Linked DNA regions of Homo sapiens: all the other regions are linked to region 3. The links are contacts of gene promoters, found by promoter capture Hi-C in human tissues and cell types (Jung and others, 2019). All regions are on one chromosome and are shown on one strand. The core of a region is centred on a gene start or on the middle of the fragment in contact, and the rest is flanking DNA. Distances in the headings are between cores, read along the strand shown. Region 1 has its middle 14 kb from the start of IGSF10. Region 2 has its middle 20 kb from the start of LINC02066. Region 3 holds the start of AADAC (arylacetamide deacetylase).

Region 1 (2,700 bases), core at 102-2,601, 340 kb before region 3:
ATGGAATTTAAAGCTAATTTGTGAATTGGGGAAAATCTTAGATTTTGTAGCCAATTAGACCTCCTAGAGTTTCAGATGGGTAAAAGCTACTCTCTGAAAAGTAGATGACAACATACACATTCAAAACAAGCACTTAATGGAACATCATGCAGCTTTAGATATTTTGCTCAAGCTGAAGGCATACGTTTGGTGTTAAACAGAACTGAATGTTGTACTTATCTCACCCCTGATTTCGTTACTACAGAAAGCTTAATTTAAAAGGTGGGTGATACTGCTGTTTCCTTAGACACTACTACCAAATACCTTAAAGAAATCTCTCAAGAGAAAGGAACCCATGATGTGTTTACAGGAGCAACTGACAGTTGGTTTGCACATAATCCTAAGTGGTGGATGATACGCTTGGGTTTTCCAAGGGTTTCTAATCTTTATATTTCTTCCAATAAGTTTCCAAGTTATTATGATTTGTATTACACCAGGGTAACAAGGAAAATGAGTACCTCTTTAAATTAGGCTACTTTCCAGCGAACTATGGTCCTTAGTCGCTCTCACACTCCAAATGAGGACTAGGACCAATTAGACCCTAATATTGTTGAACTGCCTATATTGTATAAACCTTAACTTGGTTAATTTGGTTCAGTTCATATTAGTCCATTTTCACACTGCTGATAAAGACATACCCAAGACTGGGCAATTTACAGAAGAAAGAGGTTTAATTGGACTTACAGTTCTACATGGCTGGGGAAGCCTCACAATCATGGCAGAAGGCAAGAAGGAGCAAGTCACATATTATGTGGATGGCAGCAGGCAAAGAGAGAGCTTGTGCAGGGGAACTCCTCTTTCCAAAACCACCAGATCTTGTGAGACTTATTCACTATCATGAGAACAACATGGGAAAGACTTTCCCCCATGATTCAATTACCTCCCACTGGGTCCCTCCCACAATATGTGGGATTTCAAGATGAGATTTAGGTGGGGACACAGCCAAACCATATCAGAACTCTTATTAAGGAGCATGTCTTAGGCATTTTGATATTATTCTCTTGATAGTCACAGTAATAGCCCCCCTGGTGTACTGTATCCTCTTAAGTCTTAAATGTTTTGTATATAGCCATCCATTGAGAGTTAATAGTCTCACTCCAAATGGGTCAGCAAGAACATAAAGATTCATTCAGCTGGAAAAAAGATGTGACTTGTGAATTTCATATTGACACCCAAGAAGACATGTGAAGCTCCTTACTAAAACTAAAGAGGACTTGTAAACACACAGACCAAATAAGTCTTTTCGATTGTGAGAGAGACTGGTGTCAATGCCTAAAGTTTTGGTCAATCTCTCTAAATTGAGAGGTTAACCAAAAGGGGGGAAATGTTAATGCAAATTAAATATGGCCTGAGAAGGATTTCATGCTTCTATATTAGAGTCCTTGGGGATGAACCATAACCTAACTTAATAGGTAAACAAGATTGAAAACCTAACTTAGGAGTATATGCCTGTAACATTTGGCCTATCCTAGCAGTTATACTTCAACCACTCATACACTGCTGAGTGTTCAAACTGTGTTCAAGTAAGGCAAATGCCAACTTGTAACCAGTCCAGCTGTTTCTGTACCTCACTTCTGATTTCTGCATGTCCTTTTTTTGTCTGTAAGTTTGTTCTGACCATGAGGAATCCCTGGAATCTCTCTGAATCTGCTGTGATTTTGGGGGCTGCTTGATTCATAAATCTTTTTTTTTCTTGCTCAATTAAACTTCGTTAAATTTACTTTGTCTGACGTTTTCTTTTAACAGTGCTTAGTAGTAAAGAACATTTTGCTAAATTGTCATGAGTCCTTGCTCAAGGTGTTCAGCTTTTTCTTCTAATCTGGTTTTCAGCCCTAGATCATGTGTTTCTTCATTATTATGCACAGGATCTAGTCAAGAGATATGTTTTGTATGTTCATATGGAATGTCCATAGAAGGGTGCCATCAGACATCACATCAAACTCGACTTTGCAATTATAGTCATCTGGTGGAGAAGACTACTTACATTTATGACAGATACACTATGTCTGTCATAGTGTATCTTTGGATTTGGACAGTTCCAGTCCAAACATTTGGATTGGAAATGTTTCAAAATAATTCTCTGTGATATCACCTATTTTACTGCTGCTACTGCTATGATGTATTGAGATACTTATAAAGTGGTATAAAAATATGTTTTGAAGGAAACTGCTTTTAAACTGCCTCTAAGACATACCAATTTTCATCCCTTGACGATTCCTCACTGTAAGGTTCTTGTATCGGTTTGAACCCTGAGAGTGTGCCAACAGACAACACGAATAGGTGTGGAGAAACATGCTGTTTTAATGAGCGCCTGGGTGTAGGTGGGCTGAGGCCTAATAGGCCTCTGCCCCAAATGAGGATGGGGCAAAAGTTTTATAGTCTCCTATAAACAGGAAGCATCCTAGTCTGACGTAACTGCTACATTGTACCCGGATGGCCTCTTTCTCGATCTTCAGGGGTATCTTCCGGCCAGAGGAGGTATCTTCCGGCCAGCTCTCTTCCTGCTTCTGCTATCTTGCTGACACACACTGCTGACACCAAGTGGCCTTGCGCCTTGGGACTGGGCCTGAGAAGGGAGGAGTTAATTCATCTCCTTAAGCTTTCAGGCCCCCAGGGAGAATCTTACACTCACCACAGGCCTGTCATCTTGTTTCCCCCTCC
Region 2 (2,700 bases), core at 181-2,680, 280 kb before region 3:
TATAACAATATTAATCTTAAATGTAAATGGGCTAAATGCCCCAGTTAAAAGACACAGACTGGTCTGCATGCTGTATTCAGGAAACCCATCTCACATGCAAAGACACACATAGGCTCAAAATAAAGAAATGGAAGAATATTTACCAAGCAAATGGGAAGCAAAAAAAGGCAGGGGTTGCAATCCTAGTATCTGATAAAACAGACTTTAAAACAATAAAAATTGAAAGAGACAAAGAAGGGCATTACATAATGGTAAAGGGATCAATCCAGCAAGAAGAACTAACTATCCTAAATATATATGCATCAAATACAGGAGCACCCAGATTCATAAAGCAAGTTCTGAGAGACCTAAAAAGAGACTTAGACTCCCACACAATAACAGTGGGAGACTTTAACACCCCACTGTCAATATTAGATCAATGAGACAGAAAGTTAACAAGGATATCCAGGACTTGAACTCACCTCTGGACCAAGCAGACCTAATAGACATCTACAGAACTCTCCACCCAAAATGAACAGAACATACATTCTTCTCAGCACCACATCACCCTTATTCTAAAACTGAACACATAATTGGAAGTAAAACACTCCTCAGCAAATGAAAAAAATGGAAATCATAACAAACAGTCTCTCAGACCACAGTGTGATCAAATTAGAACTCAGGATTAAGAAACTCACTCAAAATGGCACAACTACATGGGAACTGAACAACCTGTTCCTGAATGACTACTGGTAAATAATGAAATGAAGACAGAAATAAGTAAGTTTTTTGAAACCAATGAGAACAAAGACACAACATACCAGAAACTCTGGGACACATCTAAAGCAGCGTGTAGAGAGAAATTTATGGCACTAAATGTCCACAAGAGAAAGCAGGAAAGTTCTAAAATTGACACCCTAACATCACAATGAAAAGAACTAGACAAGCAAGACCAAACAAATTCAAAAGCTAGCAGAAGACAAGAAATAACTAAGATCAGAGCAGAACTGAAGGAGATAGAGACCTGAAAAACCCTTCAAAATATCAATGAACCCAGGAGCTGGTTTTTTTTAAAAGATCAACAAAATAGACCGCTAGCAAGACTAATGAAGACAAGAGAGAAGAATCAAATAAATGCAATAAAAAATGATAAAGGGGATATCACCACTGATCCCACAGAAATACAAACTACCATCAAAGAATACTATAAACACCTCTATGCAAAGAAACCAGAAAATCTAGAAGAAAAGAACAAATTCCTGGACACATACACCCTCCCAAGACTAAACCAGGAAGAAGTCAAATCCTGGAACAGACCAATAACAAGTTCTGAAATTGAGGCAGTAATTAATAGCCTACAAACACCACAAAAAAGTCCAAGGCCAGACGGATTCACAGCCGAATTCTACCAGAGTAACCAAGAGGAGCTGGTACCATTCCTTCTGAAATTGTTCCTAACCATAGAAAAGGAGGGAATCCTAATTCATTTTATGAGGCCAGCATCATCCTGATACCAAAACCTGGCAGACACACAACAAAAAAAGAAAATTTCAGGCCAGTATCCCTGATGAAGATTGATGTAAAAATCCTCAATAAAATACTGGCAAACCGAATCCAGCAGTACATCAAAAAGCTTATCCACCAAGATTAAGTCAGCTTCACCCCTGGGATGCAAGGCTAGTTCAACATACCCAAATTAATAAACATAATCCATCGCATAAGCAGAACCAATGATAAAAACCACATGATTATCTCAATAGATGCAGAAAAGGCCTTCGACAACACTCAACAGCGCTTCATGCTAAAAACTCTCAGTAAACTAGGCATTGATGGAATGTATCTCAAAATAAGAGCTATTTATGACAAACCAACAGCCAATATCATACTGAATGGGCAAAAACTGGAAGCATTCCCTTTGAAAACCGGCACAAGGCAAGGATGCCCTCTCTCACACTCCTATTCAACATAGTATTGAAAGTTCTGGTCAGGGCAATTGGCAAGAGGAAGAAATAAAGGGTATTCAATTAGGAAAAGAGGAAGTCAAATTGTCTCTATTTGCAGATGACATGATTGTATATTTAGAAAACCCCATCATCTCAGTCCAAAATCTCCTTAAGCTGATAAGAAAAGTCTCAGGATACAAAAATCAATGTGCAAAAATCATAAGCATTCCTATACACCAATAGCAGACAAACAGAGCCAAATCATAAATGAACTCCCATTCACAACTGCTACTAAGAGAATAAAATACCTAGGAATAAAACTTACAAGGGATGTGAAGGACCTCTTCAAGAACTGCCAACCACTGCTCAAGGAAATAAGAGAGAACACAAACAAATGGGAAAACATTCCATGCTCATGGATAGGAAGAATCAAAATCGTGAAAATGGCCATACAGGCCAAAGTAATTTATAGATTCAGTGCTATCCCCATCAAGCTACCACTGAGTTTCTTCACAGAATTGGAAAAAACTACTTTAAATTTCATATGGAACCAAAAAAAGAGCCCACATAGCCAAGACAATCTAAGCTAAAAGAAAGCTGGAGGCATCACTCTGACTTCAAACTATGCTACAAGGCTACAGTAACCAAAACAGCATGGTACTGGTACCAAAACAGATATATAGACCAATGGAACACAACAGAGGCCTCAGAAATAACGCCACACATCTACAACCATCTGATCTTTGACAAACCTGATAAAAACAAGCAATGGGGAAAG
Region 3 (2,700 bases), core at 51-2,550:
CTAAATGTCCTGTCTTTGCCCATCCTGGCATTTCACACTCTTCCTTCACTGCATCACAGAAAACCTTTCATGGTCCTACCCAGAACATCCCACCCTCACAGCATTCCTTGATTGGATCACCAATCTTATATTTCAAGGGGATTTACAGGAATTCACTCCAGATGAAGCCGAATTCTTTACCTTTACACTTGCTCTCTGTCTATTTACTCCTTCTTCCCTCCTCCTTCTCGCTACCGCTCCACCTACAGCGCACCATTCCACAGGCACATATGATACTCAGTCAAACTAACCCCTCCCTGGCCAAGGCCTGCTGGTACACCCCTCAGAAACCGTATCAAAAGATGTCTTCCCAGCTCCCCTCAAAGACTGGGTTCTCAGCAATATGACCCTCCACCCCCGCTACCAAAGTTTTGGAGAAGTAAATGCACTCAAAAGTTACAAACTCAATCTTACCACACATACTGCAGAACACAAGGTTATCTTAGGAACACTTACCCCAGACTCAGAACTCAGTCAACCAGCATCCCTATGCATAAAGCGTGAACTTTCCAAAGGAGTGCCCCTAGGCACCCTCTCCTCTAGCTTATGCAACTGTACCCTAACACTCACTCCCCCGACAGGCATCCAAACAATAACAGAAAAAAACCCCACACAAACTCTCAAAATCTCCAACCCCCGTCAGACCCAAGTCACGGGAGAAACATCAGGATTCTGCAATAACTGACACAGGCCCTGCATAGAAATCGCAGGGTGGAACACTTGCCTAAACCCCGTCCCCACTTCCCAATGCATGGAAATCCCACTGCCTAACACACCCTCAAACAAACTACTTATTGACACAAAACGCTTCTTATGGACTCAGCCTGGGTGACAGAGGAAGATTCTGTATCAAAAAATATATATATATACACACACACATATATATGTATATATATGTGTGTGTGTATATATATAATTTGTTTTTTCCATGATAAGCTATTTTAAAACAAAGATTCTGAATTCTGTATGTTTTCTATGGATAATTTTGTTAGAGTTAAAGAATTTGTTCCCGAGTTATTACTCAATACATGCTGTTTATTGGAATACAGATAACAGCATGATCATTGACAAACTTTGCCCTAGTTTCCTATTACTCATTAAACCTTGAAGTTGCACTTAACATGACTGTATCTGGATAACAGATAAAATTTTGGCCTTATTATGCCAACCCTTAAACTAAGTGAGCAACTCTGTTTTCAAAGCTTTTGGGTGGAGCTGAAGCACACTGCTTATTAAAGTACACTATTCAGGCATATCATGTAGGTTTACTTTCTGTGTTTCTAGAGACCAAGAAGCGGGACGTTCACCATGGGAAGAAAATCGCTGTACCTTCTGATTGTGGGGATCCTCATAGCATATTATATTTATACGCCTCTCCCAGATAACGTTGAGGAGCCATGGAGAATGATGTGGATAAACGCACATCTGAAAACTATACAAAATTTGGTAAGTTTGGAATTTTATGAATTCAGATGTGCATACACCACCATTTGACCCAGAGAATTAAGTTTTTCAAGATTCTATTCTTTTGATTTATTGACTTATTCATCTTTTAAAATAACTGCTGTGGCCTTTGACAATGTGTTACTTAGAAATGTTGTTTGTTTTCTGTCTTATGTATTGGAATCATGTTAAAAAAATATCAAGAACAGCAAGCAAGGAGTCATTTGAATAGGTTTTGCTAAAAAGTACTTTGTTTAGGTAGCTTTAATATCACGATAGTGGCTCTCCTTTGAAATTCTTATCTTAGGTATGGTTTGTTCCTTAAATTTTATACTCAAATTAGAGATCATCTGATTATGCAGCACTGTGTTAGTTACAGATTTTTATGCACTTATCTTTGGGATTCAGAATATAGACTAAGGACACGTAAATAAGTTCTCAAGAAAAGATTCAATGGGCAGGCTGGTTGGCACATGCCTAGGGTTAACCACGAGACGGCACAATATGCACAAATGAGAGGGGGAGGGAGACCTGGGTGTCCTGGCAACTGGGCAGCTTGGATGCTGGCAAATTAAAAAGGTGTAGCTCTCTCTGGATCCTTGATGATATTTTACTATTACTTCTTTGGTTATTTTATTATCTTCATTAAAACAAATCTCTTTTCAGAACTTAAACCAGATAAATGTTGTAACTCCTGGATTAATCTTTTATTTTGCATTTATTCAACAATTCAACTGTCTCAAATCCTATTAGGCAAACAAGTAGTCTATCCCCACACAGTTGACATTCTAGTGGTGGAGAAAAAAATAAATTAGAATTAAATGAATAAATGATTTTAGTTCATGAGAAGTACCTTTAAGGAGGTAAGATGGAAGAAAAGAGAGTAATTTGGGCAGAAGGCAAGAGTGGGCTACTGTATGCATGGTGAGAAAAAGCCATTCTGAAGAGGAAACAGCTACTTAGGGACCAGAAGAATGAAAAGAAACCAACCATTCTAAGTGCTAAGAAAAATGTTTTCCAGCAGAGACACCAACAAGTAAAAACACCCCAGCTACAGAATATTGACAAGTCCAAGAAATCATATGAAACATTTGGGTTTAATGGGGAAATTGTTGCAATTAGTTTGGAGAGGTTAGAAGCCATATCATACAGTGCTTTGTGGGCACTGGTAGTAAGTTTTGATTTAATTCTGTATGTGATGCAGAGCTATTAAAGAGC

The links. The method cuts DNA at HindIII sites, captures the fragments that hold promoters and counts their contacts. A contact is called where the count stands out against the background at its distance.
Region 1: a contact is called between a fragment that was not itself captured here and the fragment with the promoter of AADAC in region 3, in 1 of the 25 tissues and cell types used here (H1 embryonic stem cells).
Region 2: a contact is called between a fragment that was not itself captured here and the fragment with the promoter of AADAC in region 3, in 1 of the 25 tissues and cell types used here (stomach).

The regions. Positions count from the first base shown.
Region 1 is chr3:151,474,016-151,476,715 of GRCh38, forward strand. It overlaps a transcript of IGSF10 not described here and the pseudogene MRPL42P6. Among named protein-coding and RNA genes, the nearest start is that of IGSF10, 14 kb to the left of the region's middle. The HindIII fragment of the contact is 3,256 bases long and covers 1-2,700 here.
Region 2 is chr3:151,530,857-151,533,556 of GRCh38, forward strand. It overlaps a transcript of IGSF10 not described here. Among named protein-coding and RNA genes, the nearest start is that of LINC02066, 20 kb to the right of the region's middle. The HindIII fragment of the contact is 4,462 bases long and covers 1-2,700 here.
Region 3 is chr3:151,812,816-151,815,515 of GRCh38, forward strand. AADAC (arylacetamide deacetylase) reads left to right here and starts at 1,301. Exons shown (of 5, transcript NM_001086.3): 1 at 1,301-1,485. The coding sequence starts at 1,348. All of the region lies in intron 1 of AADACL2-AS1 (AADACL2 antisense RNA 1), which reads right to left. The HindIII fragment of the contact is 13,838 bases long and covers 1-2,490 here.